Regions from separate parts of the Homo sapiens genome. Here region 1 is linked to region 2. Evidence: promoter capture Hi-C in human tissues and cell types (Jung and others, 2019). All regions are on one chromosome and are shown on one strand. The core of a region is centred on a gene start or on the middle of the fragment in contact, and the rest is flanking DNA. Distances in the headings are between cores, read along the strand shown.

Region 1 (4,328 bases), core at 1,643-4,142, 640 kb after region 2:
TTTAAAAGGTTTTTATTGCTGTAGTTCACCTAAACTTTTCTTTGAGAGTCAAACATGGAGCCAAGTCTTGTCTTTGGTTGATGGTTCATTTTACTGTAGAATTTGGAATAAGAGTTTTAAACTGTTCTTCATTTTCAATGTGTTATTTTCCTCTATGGAGATCCACCAAACATTCATCAGTTATTCTCTGAAATAATGGATAGCAGGATTTATACATTTGTACAATTGGTTATGTTTTATTATTAGGAATTTTACCTATTTTGAGGTTCCAGGCAGGAAGGGTGGTACAGAAAGAGGAGATGGAAATGAGAATTTCACCCTAGATAACTTAGCGGTTTCCTACCTCCATCTCTGAATCCCATAATAACGATCATGATATCACACCCTAATCCTTTTAGGAACAAGTATATTTAATACTTGGTGAAGGTACATAATGTTTATTTTATTTTATTTTTTTGAGATGGAGTCTTGCTCTGTCACCCAGGCTGGAGTGCAGTGGCACAATCTCGGCTCACTGCAGCCTCTGCCTCCTGGGTTCAAGTGATTCTTCTGCCTCAGCCTCCTAAGTAGCTGGGATTACAGGCATGTGGCACCATGCCCGGCTAATTTTTGTATTTTTAGTAGAGATGGGGTTTCGTCATCTTGGCCAGGCTGGTCTTGAACTTCTGAGCTCAGACTGTCCATCCGCCTCAGCCTCCCAAAGTGCTGGGATTACAGGCATGAGCCACCACGCCCAGCCTGAAGGTACATAACATTTAAATTGGCAACTGTTTAGCTCCTCTTTTTTGTAAGCTTGTATAAGATTGATAATAAATTCATGGGAGACCTGAGGATTATATGACAGGGAAATGATTCAAAAATTTTTTTTACTGTATTATTGGTTGATATGTTACTACAAATAAAATATTGTGAAGTTAAGGACCTTGGTCACATTAACTACTAAGTGATGGAGCTAGTCAGTATTCCATTAGGTGATTTCATTCCAAAACTTGCACTCAACCACATTCTGGAGGTTTCTTTTGTCCATTGAGAAGAACAAAAGGTGACAGCTGACAACTATAAAAAGCAGTCGTTAGCCTATTGAGTATAGAGGCATTTGACACTATAGACTTTCCTGGTTATTTCGGTCACTATTTTATGGAGTTGTCCAGTAATGAGTGTACCTAATAATTCCTTCAATCTTTATTATTATTTTCTCTTAGTACATTTAAAAAGTATAGTTTCTACCCCAGTGGTTAAATTCTCCAAATTTATTGCTAAAAAGTAAACTTTAAATTTGGAAAATTTGCTGAAGTAAATTGCAATTTCAGAAAAATAAGTGAATATGGAGACACCCAGTTTCATGACATAAATATTTCAATAAATTATTAGATTACTGGCCTTCTAGTGGTCTCAGATTCTATAAGCTGTTGATACTTAGGATATTTTTTATAAGCTTAATGCAATCAAATTAAAATTCTATTAAAATACTTTTAAAGTAGAAACCTAATTTTAATCAGTTGAATAATAGCACATTTTATGAATCAGATTTTTAATTTTGAGTGGTTACAACTTATCTTCACATCATATTTATTATTGGAACAAGAAAGTGATAATTTTCCTGTGAACTCACTTGGGGAAGTATAAAAAAAATGATAGTTTATATGAATGCTTTAATATTCATTTGAAAAATAGGATTTAGCTTGTCCTTTTGCTTATTCTAGAAGGTAGAATTAACTTTTTGTTTTGTTTTGTTTTGAGACGGAGTCTCGCTCTGTCGCCAGACTGGAGTGCAGTGACGTGATCTCAGCTCACCGCAACCTCCACCTCGCAGGTTCAAGCAATTCTCCTGCCTCAGCCTCCCAAGTAGCTGGGATTACAGGTGTGCACCACCATGCCCAGCTAATTTTTGTATTTTTAGTAGAGACAGGGTTTTACCACATTGGCCAGGATGGTCTCTATCTCTTGACCTTGTGATCCGCCCACCTTGGCCTCCCAAAGTGCTGGGATTACAGGTGTGTGCCACTGCGCCCGGCCACTTTTTCTTTTTTTGTAATTTTTTTTTTTTTCCTTTGAGACTGAGTTTCTACCTTGTTGCCCAGGCTGGAGTGCAATGGTGCGATCTCGGCTCACCACAACCTCTGACTCCCGGGTTCAAGCCATTCTCCTGCCTCAGCCTCCCAAGTAGCTGGGATTACAGGCATGCACCACCATGCCTGGCTAATTTTGTATTTTTAGTACAGATGGGGTTTCTCCATGTTGGTCAAGCTGGTCTCGAACTCCCGACCTCAGGTGATCCGCCCGCCTCGGCCTCCCAAAGTGCTGGGATTACAGGTGTGAGACACCATGCTCGGCCTTGAATCTTAGACATCTGCATTAGGTCTTCAGAGGTGGCATGATCTCGGCTCACTGCAACCTCCGCCTTGTGGGTTTAAAGGATTCTCCTGCCTCAGCCTCCTGAGTAGCTGGGATTACAGGTGTGCGTCACCACGTCCAACTAGTTTTTGTATTTTTAGTAGAGACGGGGTTTTGCCATGTTGGCTAGACTGGTCATGAACTCCTGACCCTAAGTGATCTGCTCGTCTTGGCCTCCCAAAATGCTGGGATTACAGGCATGAGCCACTGCACCTGGCTACAAAAATTTTTTAAAGTATTCAGATTTTTTTTTTTTTTTGAGATGGCGTCTCATTCTCACCCAGACTGGAGTGCATTTGCACGATCTCGGTTCACTGCAACCTCCGCTTCCTGGGTTCAAGTGATTCTCCTGCATCAGCCTCCCTAGTAGCTGGAAGTACAGGCGTGCACCACTGCGCCCAGCTAATTTTTGTATTTTTTTTAAGAGACGGGGTTTCACCATGTTGGTCAGGCTGGTCTTGAACTCCTGACCTTGTGATCCATCTGCCTTGGCCTCCCAAAGTACAAGGATTACAGGTGTTGAGTCACCGTGCACGGCCCCAAGAGATGGTGGTGGTGGTGGTTTGTTTTTTTTTTTTAACAGTAGAACTGTTTTTTTCGTTTCCATTATTTATTTCCTGATTCACTTATAAATGTTGGAGCTATTGAAGCAATTGGAATTTTTTTGAATTATAGTTAACAATAGTAAAGATGTATCTTAAAAGATATAGTAGCTTTATTTATCATTTAATAGTAATGTAATATAAGCCTTACTTGTGTGTTCCATAATTTTTACTTTCTGCCAGTATGAAATAGCCAAAAGTGACTGAAAGCCAGTAATTTTCACATCCCGTGCAAGTCGATTGCATTTCTAGATATTTTACTTATTTAGTATGCTCTTGACAGCCTAAAATTGCCATTCTCCCCAGTGTCAGCATTCATGGAGAAAAGAGAATTTTTTTTCATTTTGTTAGATATTATTTTAATACCATATCAAAACACCTTGACTAATGAAAAAAGCTTTTCTCTCAAGCTTTGAACATTTTTGAAGGCATTTCATACTTTTTTTTTTTTGGTATTTTAATGTATAAATACAGAAACCTATCTTGCATGGGTGGGTGCCACATGTAAACATCAATGGCTAAAATGTTCTCAAAGTGCTTGAAGACAAGGATGGCTGTACATATTTGTTTATTTATTTATTTATTTATTTATTTTTAGACAGGGTCTTTTGCTGTCGCCCAAGTTGGAGTGCAGTGGCACAATCTCGGATCACTGCAACCTCCACCTCGTGGGTTCAAGTGGTTCTCCCGCCTCAGCCTCCTGAGTAGCTGGGATGACAGGCTCGCGCCACGACACCCAGCTTATTTTTGTATTTTTAGTAGAGACAGAGTTCACTGTTGGCCAGTCTGGTCTCAAATTCCTGAGGTCAGGTGATCCATCCTCCTTGGCCTCCCAAAGTGCTGAGATTACAGGCATGACGCACCACGCCCGACCTACGTATTTCTTATTAGTCTTTTGTTGTTGTTGTTTGCTTACGTTTTCTGGAAAAAAAAAAATTCACAAGGGCCTAAGAATAACATTCTGGCATTTTTGCAAGACACTTGTGATTATTGAATCTTCTTAAGAGATAATATTTTAAAACTGGATTACCTTTTATAAAATGGACAGGCTAAGATCAACTTTGGATTTTTTTTTTTTTTTTAATTTAGAGGTCTAGTTATCTTTCCAGTTGTATTCAGACTCTTAGCCCTTAGGGATCTACAAGTGGCTTATTAGGAAATTGATCCAATATGTAGAAACAAAAGCTTCTAACAAGTGGACACATTGGCCTAACAAAAACCAAGTTATACTATATTTGAGTTCATGAATGTCTGACTTAAATGCCATTAGTACCATTCATTCAGTAATCTGAATTAGGCTTAACACATGAGAAGGGGAGAGGAGACAAGAGA
Region 2 (4,357 bases), core at 415-2,914:
AGTGCTGGGATTACAGGCGTGAGCCACCGTGCCCAGCCAACTAAACGTACATTTATAAGTTTTAAGATAAAATGTTTAAGGCAGATAGGAACTGCATATTGATATCATTTTTATGATTTCCCATCTTTTAATGTAACTGACCAATTACTGGTTATTCCATATGTGCTGTAGGATTCTTCTGTCAAGTTGAATATGTTAAAGGTCATAAAATAGAAACATACAAGAGTACTGGGATTAAACACACATGTACTTGCACACACACACACACCCACTCAGATGTCTAGCTAGAGATCAAGAAGAGTTTTTTGTTTTGTTTTGTTTTGAGATGGAGTCTCGCTCTGTTGCCTAGACTGGAGTGCAGTGGCGCGATCTTGGCTCACCGCAACCTCCGCCTCCTGGGTTCAAGCGATTCTCCTGCCTCTGCCTCCTGGGTAGCTGGGATTACAGGTATGTGCCACTGCGCCAGGCTAATTTTTGTATTTTTAGTGGAGATGGGGTTTTGCCATGTTGGCCAGGCTGGTCTTGAACTCCTGACCTCTGGTGATCCGCCCACCTCAGCCTCCCAAAGTGCTAGGATTACAGGTGTGAGCCACCACGCCAGGCCAAGAAGAGTTTTGAAGAATAAGCAATGATTGTGCTGGACCTTGAAAAATGGGTAGGATTTAGACTGGGGTGGGTGGGGGTAAGAAGGAAGAGTACTGAAGGTGGTAGGAATGGCCTCTGTGTGTCTGTGCTTGCTCGCTCTTGTGCTTGAAATGTTCAACTAAGGGGCTCACACCACCAATTACTAGAAGGACATGGTCTTGCCAGCACTCTGCAGAGAAGCCACACAAACTCATCCTACCAAAGGCTTTGGAATGGCTCAATTCATATCTTTTCCTTGGCCATTTGCTCTTCTTTGGATTCTGGGAAATAGTATGGGATTCTTTCTAAATTCTCCCCCGCACTCCTTTTTTGGCTAGATTGGTTTGTTGACTGGTTTCTGCTACTTGCAACCAAAAGAATCTTATTGAGTATGAACACACATCTTTGATGATGGTAATTTATGTATATCCCACCACCTAAAATCAGAAAAAACTCGAGAGAAAATTTTAAAGGTTATGTATATAAAGCACATCCTATAAAAAGAACTGAAGGCTTCTAGTTAAGATTCTGTCACTAAACAGCAGTGTTACTTTGGAGAAGTTATTTTACATCTCTGGGCCTCAGCATCCATAATAATGATATTACTAGAATGTCTGAGATCTCTTCTAGGTCTCTTTCACTAAATAAAAATGCTAGCCTTCCTCTCCAACTGGGGATGTTTTATTATTTCATTAGTGTTATTTTGTTTGCTCTAGTACTTTCCAAAAGACCTAGATATAATTAAATTTTCTTTGAATAGAAAGAGAATAACAAAATGTTAAGAAGCTGCCCAAGGCTTGAAAATATTTAAATTTGTGCTCTATGCTGGATTATCCTGCCCTATATCTGAACTTGACATACACTCTATGTCAAAGAACTGAGGAGAAATGATACTGGCACTTTTTTTAAAAAGTTAAGGGCATCCCTAGTTTGAAGAAGTTAAAGGAATAAGCAAGCAGCAACACTGCTTATTAGCATTGGCATGTAAGTAATGAAATCAAGTATGTTAGGAAGTCTTAGGCATCAGGAAGTTACACTCATTCATTTCCACAAGACCTTCTGGATCCAGCTGAATGTGGAGGCCTTTAAGAGAACTTCCAGCTCCTGTAAAAACCCAGACCAGAGGACTACTGACCAACATTTCAGGCTGATCCTCCAGACCTCGAAGTTACTCTCCTTACTCTCCTGACTCTTAATTACATCACACCTGTGTCGACACTCTCTGGGAAAAGACTGAAGAAATAATCTTTTCAAGAAGCAGGTACATTTAAAAGGCAAACCATTTTTAATATTCCTAGTAGTCTCCTTTCTTCTCATTTAAAATATGTTCCTAGAAGTTTTTTTGCCTGTGGTTCTGAGTTGAGGTCTACTAATAAAAGGTACTAGCATCTTAACAAACCAGTTAGGCAAACTTTCTATCCCTGTATTATTAAAAAGCTGCTCTTTACTTGTGAAGTAATATTCTGATCTCTATTTGATCTTCAGGAATTTTGCCACGCATGGTGGCTCACATCTGTAATCCCAACACTTTGGGAGGCTGAGGCAGCAGCATAGCTTGAGCCCAGCCTGGGCAACAAAGTGAGACCCAGTCTCCACAAAAAGATAAAAAAGTTAGCCAGGTATGGTGGGGTATGCCTGTGGCCCCAACTATACGGGAGTTTCCTAAGGCAGGAAGATCACCTGAGCCCAGGAGGTTGAGGTTGCAATACACTCCAGCCTGGGTGACAGAGCAAGACCCTGTATCAAAAAATAAAATTTAATTTTATAAAAGTTATAAAATAATTTGCCTAATTTTAACATCAAGCAGCCACATTGTTTTGTCTCTCCCTCTCTCTCTCATCTCCCTGCAAAATTCTTTCCCTCCTCCCTGTCTGTTAATTTTACTTTCTTGTGATACGGAGGGAATAGCTCACAGAGCTGCTCAAATATTTCATCAACTATAAGATGCTATCATTTGTAATAGCAACCATTATTTTACGTGCCACCAAGACAAAATACTGCTGCTAAACTTTGACAAGCTAACGATATTAAGATGTACCTCAGTTATAGAAATGGTAAATATGAAAAAAATGTGTGATATGATAGAGTTCTCCATCCCTAGTTTATAACTCCTCCCTACTCTGTAAGAAACCACATTTGCTCCCTTGAGCCATCACATCCTGTTCTCCTGTTCAGATCCTCTTCTCTCTTCTCCACACCACCTCATCACTGAAGACACAAGCAGATGTTAAGTGATGAGAAAATCAGAAGGAACAGTGGCAGGCGCTAGTATACGGTAACAGAGACCCTCTTTAGTCATTTACTTCCTAACTGTACTACCTTTACAAGAGTTTTCAAAGTTATGCCCTTCATTTTGAGATTGTAGATAATGGTTATTAGCTTAAAATATCTTCTTCCCAAAGAGAAAGTAAAATTGCATTTTGCCAAATAGCACTATAAAAATGAGTTCTGTACAATATTATAATTTTAATGTTCATTTGATGGCTTACATAAGTGCTATGCTCATCTGGTTACAATAGAATTTTCCAGTAAATAATAACGCACAGGTTATATTTCAAAAAAAAACTTCATTTTTAAAAAACTTAAGGTATGACTTCTGCTTACAAAATTATAAAACACAGGTTTCCCTGAAATACTCATTTTCCAAAGTACATGTAAAACATGAATTAATATGACTTATAAATTGTCAAGATTGCCTCTGTAGTGAAAATCAAAGAAATGTGGAATGGAATTTCACCTGAACTTCTGAGCTAGTCTGTTGTCTTTATTTGTGCTCCTTTTGACACATAGTGCCTTATGTTTTTCTATACTCCTCAAATGAAGCTAAAACATTTACCAATGTAGGCAATTTTCCTGGGCTTCCTTGAAGACGCAGTTCAACACTGCAAAATATTTACAGCTGTATTCTTTGGACTGCAATGACATGTTCACACGACCTTGTGGCCAGAGGTTACGTCCTATTAGTCCTAGGAAGGTTCAAGTACTTGGCACAGTTTGTGAGATGCTGTGGTCAATCAGTTACATAAAGTGGCTGCCATAGTACTTTTGTTAGTGTAATACCAGTAGCAGACAACATTTAGAGCAGATAAATTTTATATTTCAAAATAGAACTAAAATTTGGACACTCAAAAAGAATTACATTAACATGGGAAAATCCTTGATTCTTAAAACATGTCAATAATTAGACAGTGTAATTTTTATTTTTAACACACAAAAGAAGCCAACACAAAATATTCATACCTCAATATCAAAATGAATGTTTCTTACATTCAGTGCTATTGACAAGAGGCAATGAAGCAAGTACATGTTAAAAAAAAAGAAACTCAGCTTGTGAAAGGCAGAGGAAGGTCAAAACACAGATCAATAAACAAAAAAACAAAAAAAAAATGTGGGCAAGTCCAAGGCAGAGATATACTGTCAGATTTAAGTAAAAAGTTGACAGCAGCTTCTCTAGCTTTTACTTTCTTTCTAAGGTAATGGGAATGAAATCCTTTTAAAAGACAAGCAGAGAAGCATGCAGCTGACAACAACCAAGATTTGATAGCAGGGGAGAATGTGGAGACAGAAGCTCCCTGTTCTTATCAAACGCAGCTTCTAAAACCATTCCTTTTCCTTGAAGAGTGTCTGAATTTTATAGAGGAATGATCTGTTAAGTCTAGGAGAATTATCATACTTTTTGTATCTTCCAGTCGGGAGGGATAACCTCCTGGTAAGGTTTCACTTCCTTCCATGG

The links. Contacts are between HindIII fragments. The study calls those that stand out against the background at their distance.
Region 1: a contact is called between a fragment that was not itself captured here and the fragment with the promoter of KCTD4 in region 2, in 1 of the 25 tissues and cell types used here (pancreas).

Annotation. Positions count from the first base shown.
Region 1 is chr13:44,554,869-44,559,196 of GRCh38, reverse strand. The region is part of intron 1 of TSC22D1 (TSC22 domain family member 1); the gene reads left to right. Among named protein-coding and RNA genes, the nearest start is that of TSC22D1-AS1, 19 kb to the left of the region's middle. The HindIII fragment of the contact is 3,555 bases long and covers 1,115-4,328 here.
Region 2 is chr13:45,198,352-45,202,708 of GRCh38, reverse strand. KCTD4 (potassium channel tetramerization domain containing 4) reads left to right here and starts at 1,664. Exons shown (of 2, transcript NM_198404.3): 1 at 1,664-1,885. All of the region lies in intron 4 of GTF2F2 (general transcription factor IIF subunit 2), which reads right to left. The HindIII fragment of the contact is 9,631 bases long and covers 1-4,357 here.